Linked DNA regions of Homo sapiens: region 1 is linked to region 2. The links are contacts of gene promoters, found by promoter capture Hi-C in blood cells and fetal thymus (Javierre and others, 2016). All regions are on one chromosome and are shown on one strand. Each heading gives the region's core, a stretch centred on a gene start or on the middle of the fragment in contact. The rest is flanking DNA. Distances are from core to core; before and after follow the strand shown. Region 1 holds the start of SKA1 (spindle and kinetochore associated complex subunit 1). Region 2 holds the start of IER3IP1 (immediate early response 3 interacting protein 1).

Region 1 (2,871 bases), core at 301-2,800, 3.2 Mb before region 2:
GTAGTATACAGTGATGTCCTAGGCCCTCACAGTCACTGTCTCACCCACAGCAACTTCCAGTTCTGCAAGCTCCATCAATGGTAAGTGGCCTATACAGGTGTTCCATTTTTAATCTTTTACTGTATCTTTTCTATGTTTAGATACACAAATACTCACCATTGTGTTACACTTGCCTAAGGTATTCAGTACAGTCACATGCTATACGGGTTTGTTGCCTAGGAGCAATAGGCTATATAGCCTAGATATGTAGTAGGCTATACCATCTAGGTTTGTGTACATTTACGTACATTCTATGATGTGATGTTTGCACAACGACAAAATCATGTAACGCTTTTGTCAGAACACATCTCCATCATTAAGGAACGCATGACTGTATCTCTATTTAGCTGTAGAACCATGGATGCCACATAACCTTCAAATCTCACCATTGGCCTATGTGTCTCAGAAAAACATAAGTAAATAATTCTAATGAATATTCAGTTCATTGTTCAATGTACCTTACATTTTTAGTATCCTCCACAATATTCAAAATGACATTGGACTATTTAAAAAATCGTTATGCAAAAATCTAAAATTACCTAAGATGCAGTCACTTAACCAAGCAAAGATATCATTCAGAGTGGAATAATCAAAATGCATTTTGTATATACAAAGTCAGTGGAATCTGTTTTACTTACCACAGTTTCTTAATGATAAGGTTTTCTTAATATTGCCAATCTTTTCATTAACATGAGAGCATAATTGTTCCAGATCTGACGAGGCCATCCTTTAAGCCTCTGAAGAAAAAAACATAAACATATTCGTAACAAGAAAAGCCACACAAATTTCTGTTCACTTTCGAAATCCAAGAATGGTCAATGTCAAGTAAATCACATGTCTTTGAAGGTTAAGCACAAAAATTCAAGAGCAATTTCTTTCATTTCTACAACATTCAGTTTCTAACCACGGTACCGTACTGACTTGTCTTAGAGCCTTAGGCCATCGATGGATCCCAAACCAGGGGAAAGAGGATAAGCCTGGGTCCTTTCCTTAAGGATTCAGGAGGACAAACGCACTATTTGTATATAAAGACAACATTGGTATTTTCTTTAAACACGCAAAATAAGGACACATTTTTTAAAAATGTGTTACACTGTCAAAGAAATGGGCCCAGGTAATCATTTTTCCTGTGCTGTGAGGGGTTGGGGCTTTACAGTTTGGGATCGGTAAGGAGGCCGAGAAATGGGAAAGAACCAGTTTCCCACCCACTCCGCCGGTGAGAGAGAAGGGGAGGGTCTAAAGCATCCAACCCAGCCTCCAGCCCCGTCCTCCCCCAAGCCCGGCGCGGTCCGCGGCCCCCAGCTGCCAAGCAGCTACCTCGGGCGCTTCCAAAGGCAGGGTCCCCAACACACAGACTCCAACCTCAAGTCCGTCCGGGAGCAAAAGGCTACTCGCCGCTGGGTCTCCAGCTGCGGATACCGCAGTCTCCGTTGGAAGCCCAGGATGGTGAGACGGGACTCTGTAAGCAAAATTCAAACCGCCCGCCGCGCCCTAGCGCAGCGCAGGCGCACATCCATGCTTCCGAAGCGCAGGCTCAGCCGCTGTTCCCGGTTTGCGTCATCCGGGGCCACAGCTGGGCGGGAAGGAGGGGTGGCCGAGCCGGGGAAAGGCGGGGCGACGGCGAAGGCGGGGCTTCCGGACGAAAGGGTAACCCGGAGGTGCTCTTTCCGCGCTAACCAGTCTGGGGAGATTTCAGCAGGTCATGCAGTCTTGACCGCAGCCCAGCCAGGGACCTGGCGTCACCAAGTCCTGGTCTTTGACATTTGCTGCACCTTAGAGTCACCAGGGGCAGCTATTACAAGTCTCAGTGCCTAGAGTACACCCCAAGTCGGTGAAATCAGACACTGGGGAAATGAGGCACAAGCCTTAGTATTTATAAAAACACCCCAGAAAATTCCAAAGAGCAGCTAAGTTTGTGTGGAAGAAACAGTGACCCTGTCTTCTGGGTCTTAGACAGCCTCTGTAAGTGTTCCCGGGCCAAACCAGGGGTTGGGCTGCTTATTCTCATGATGAACTGGGAAAGAAGAGTTTATTTCGGTAACCGGGTACAGGGAAAAGGCCTGGAAAATATCGCCAAATCGATTCAAAATTACAAAGTTTTCCAGAGCTTATATACCTTCTAAACTATCTGTCTACATGTAAGTGTGCATGTGTGTAAAGACGTAAATGATTAACTGTTTCTAATCTATAACTAAGATCAGTCCTAAGGAAGGTCTTTATTTAAGTAAATTTACTTAATCTAGATGGCTGCAGGTGCCAGAGGTGATTACCCTTATCTTGTCTCCTGCTAAATCATGAAGGTTTGGGCAGTTCCTTCAGACCCCCGATAAACTTGTTTGTGGAGGTCTGGGGGAGTTTCTTCAGACCCCCAATAAAAACTTGTTTAATCTTGAACAGGTCCTGTTAAGAATTCCTTCTTTATTTTCTCATGCTTCAAGGACCAGGAAAGGCCTGGGCAAAACTCTTGGTGGGCTTTTGTTACATACCAGCCTTTCTATAAAGACACTGGCTCTTTCAGCTTTTAATATTTAACTTAACTAGTGCTGAAACAGTGGTTACGGAGGCCTGTCTGTTCAGCTGTTAGTGAGACCTGGCCTGCCACTTAAGAGCAAATATAAATTTAAAATAAGAAAAACAAAAGTTTAATTCTCCCTGTTGAAAAGGAGGGAAAAGCACCCAAGGCTGGAGTGGTGGCACCGCCAGGTTCTGTCCATCCCTTGGCTCCACTGCGCTATTATTATGCACTTGGACCTTCAGGCTGCCAGCCCCTGTCCTCAGGTCTTTCTCCCAGGCAGCAGAAACGAGCAAGAGGCATGTGTAATAGGCTTAACT
Region 2 (2,700 bases), core at 120-2,619:
TGCCTGCTTTATATCCTGGCCACTCCAGCAGCTGATTAGATGGTGCCCACTTGGATTAAGAGTGGACCTGTCTTTCCCAGCCCACTGACTCAAATGTTAATCTCCTTTGGCAACACCCTCACAGACACACCCAGGATCAATACTTTGCATCCTTCAATCCAATCAAGTTGACACTCAGTCTTAACCATCACATACAGCTAAGCAGGAGGCTAAGGCAGGAGGACTGCTCGAGCCAGGAGCTGAAGGCTGCATTGAGCTATGATGGTGCCACTGCACTCCAGCCTGGGCAACAGAGCAAGACCCTGTTCCTGGGGGGGGAAAAAAAAAAAGAAGAGGCTCAGAGGATCTTGGTTGGAGTTTGGTCAAGGAGGGGATGTTTCTCACTGAGTAATTTTAAAACAGTTATTTTGTTTTAGCATTCTGAAATCTGAAATGGGAATATTAGTATCTCCTGTATCTCCTGGGAGCATCAAGTGCAGTACTGAGCAATAGAAATATAATGCAAGCGTCACATGTCATTTACAGTATCTTCATAACCACATTAAATAAAATAATTAAAAATAAACAAGAAACCTTCCTCCCTTCCTTCCTTCTTTCCTCTTGCTCTGTCACCCAGGCTGGATCTCGGCTCACTGCAGTCTCTGCCTCCCGGGTTCAAGTGATTCTCTTCTCTCAGCCTCCTGAGTAGCTGGGATTACAGGAGCCCACCATCACACCCAGCTAATTTTTGTATTTTCAGTAGAGACAGGGTTTTGCCATGTTGGCCAGACTGGTCTCGAACTCTTGACCTTAGGTGATTTGCCCGCCTCGGTTTCCCAAAGTGCTAGAATTACAGGCGTGAGCCACTGCGCCCGGCCTCAAAATATTTTCATTTCAACATGTTATCAACATTTAAAAATTATTGGGAGGCCGAGGAGGGGGGAATCACGAGGTCAGGAGATTGAGACCATCCTGGCTAACACGGTGAAACCCCGTCTCTACTAAAAATACAAAAAATTAGCCGGGCGTGGTGGCGGGCACCTGTAGTCCCAGCTACTTGGGAGGCTGAGGCAGGAGAATGGCGTGAACCCGGGAGTCGGAGCTTGCAGTGAGCCGAGATCGTGCCACTGCACTCCAGTTTGGGCGACAGGGCCAGACTCCATCTCAAAAAAAAAAAAATTATTGGGATATTCTTCATCCTTGTTCCAGTTCCAAGTGTGTGAAATCCGGTGTGTATTTTGCACCTGCAGCACTGGCCACATCAGAGCATTGATTGCACATCACCGGTCTAGACAAGCGGCAGGACTTGCAGTCTTCAGCGAGGGGCGGTTCTTAGCCAGATGGAGGCGGGGCTTCCCGGAGAGTTCGTTTTGGGCCCCATCGGCTTCCGTAGGAAGGCGCCGGCCGTGGAGGCGCCACGTCCCTTGCGGCGGCGGGAGAGAAATCGCTTGGACTTCGGGGCGGCCTCGGACGGCCATGGCCTTTACCCTGTACTCACTGCTGCAGGCAGCCCTGCTCTGCGTCAACGCCATCGCAGTGCTGCACGAGGAGCGATTCCTCAAGAACAGTGAGTGGGACCGCGGGGCGCGGGCTGGGGCGGCGGCGGAGTCCCCGGGGGCGCGTAACCTAATGGGGCCGCGTGAGGGGACACCAAGGGCCGGGACAGAAGAACAGCGGAAGGCTCGGCTTGGAGTGGAAGCCGAGCCTTTCCTCTCATCAGGTTTGGGCTCAACAGCCGGGAGAATATTCAACAGACACCCGCTGTGCAGGGCCCAGGGGGTTGGGGTGGAGGGATATAGAAGTCAGTCAGGGACGCCTCTGCTTGCGATTACTTCAGGTCAGTAATTTAATTCAGTTTTCTGTGACTACTTTTTTTTTTGAGGGGGAGTCTCGCTCTTTTGCCCAGGCTGAAGTGCAGTGTCGCGGTCCTGTGACTACTTTTAATAGTCGAAAACCCGGGGTCTGAGTTTCGGGCTAAGAGTTGGGGGTGTGGGGCCGGGCGCGGTGGCTCCCGCCTGTAATCCCAGCACTTTGGCAGGCCGAGGCCGGCGGATCATGATGTCAGGAGTTTGGGACCAGCCTGGCCAACATGGTAAAACCCCGTCTCTACTAAAAATACAAAGATTAGCCGGACGTGGTGGTGGAAATACAAAAATTAGCCGGGCGGGAGGCTGAGGCAGGAGAATCACTTAAACCTGGGAGGCAGAGGTTGCAGTGAGCCGAGATTGCGCCATTGCACTCCAGCCTGGGCAATAGAGTGAGACTCCGTCTAACAAAACAAAACAAACAAAACAAAACGAGTTGGGTGTGGAGGGGAAGGAGGCGTGACCCATTTTGGAGCATCAGTAGTTCACTAACTGATGGAAGGCAATAAGTGTTCCTGGGCTTTAGGAATTACAGGAAGGGAACGTGTTGGAGTTATCAGGACATTCAGACACTCATGTTCCAAGAAAAGTTTATTCAGATAGCTTATTGGGTGCATAGAGTGTGCCAAAAACTCTGCTAGAATTTAGAAATTCAAAAATGAAAACACAAGTTATACCTTCCAGGACCTCACGTTGTGTACCAAGTATGCCCGTTTGAATCACTGAAACGTAAACCCAGGAGCAAGATTGATTCATTTCATTTACTTCAGAAGATATTTATTGAGTGCAAAGTATGTGCCAGGCCCATTTATAGTAACTGAAGTTACAGCAGCTACTCTGCCCTTCTGATGGAAGT

Evidence for each region. The method cuts DNA at HindIII sites, captures the fragments that hold promoters and counts their contacts. A CHiCAGO score of 5 or more calls a contact.
Region 1: the fragment with the promoter of SKA1 here is called in contact with the fragment with the promoter of IER3IP1 in region 2 in 3 of 17 cell types (naive CD8 T cells, total CD8 T cells and non-activated CD4 T cells); the score reaches 8.7 in naive CD8 T cells.

What each region holds. Positions count from the first base shown.
Region 1 is chr18:50,373,725-50,376,595 of GRCh38, reverse strand. It overlaps SKA1 (spindle and kinetochore associated complex subunit 1), which reads right to left and starts at 1,550. Exons shown (of 7, transcript NM_145060.4): 1 at 1,402-1,550; 2 at 678-776. The coding sequence starts at 765. It overlaps LOC105372114 (a long non-coding RNA gene), which reads left to right and starts at 1,718. Exons shown (of 3, transcript XR_935466.3): 1 at 1,718-2,001. RefSeq lists a silencer at 2,763-2,871. The HindIII fragment of the contact is 8,258 bases long and covers 1-2,871 here.
Region 2 is chr18:47,175,033-47,177,732 of GRCh38, reverse strand. IER3IP1 (immediate early response 3 interacting protein 1) reads left to right here and starts at 1,369. Exons shown (of 3, transcript NM_016097.5): 1 at 1,369-1,546. The coding sequence starts at 1,456. RefSeq lists enhancers at 1,201-1,330, 1,341-1,460. The HindIII fragment of the contact is 4,620 bases long and covers 1-2,700 here.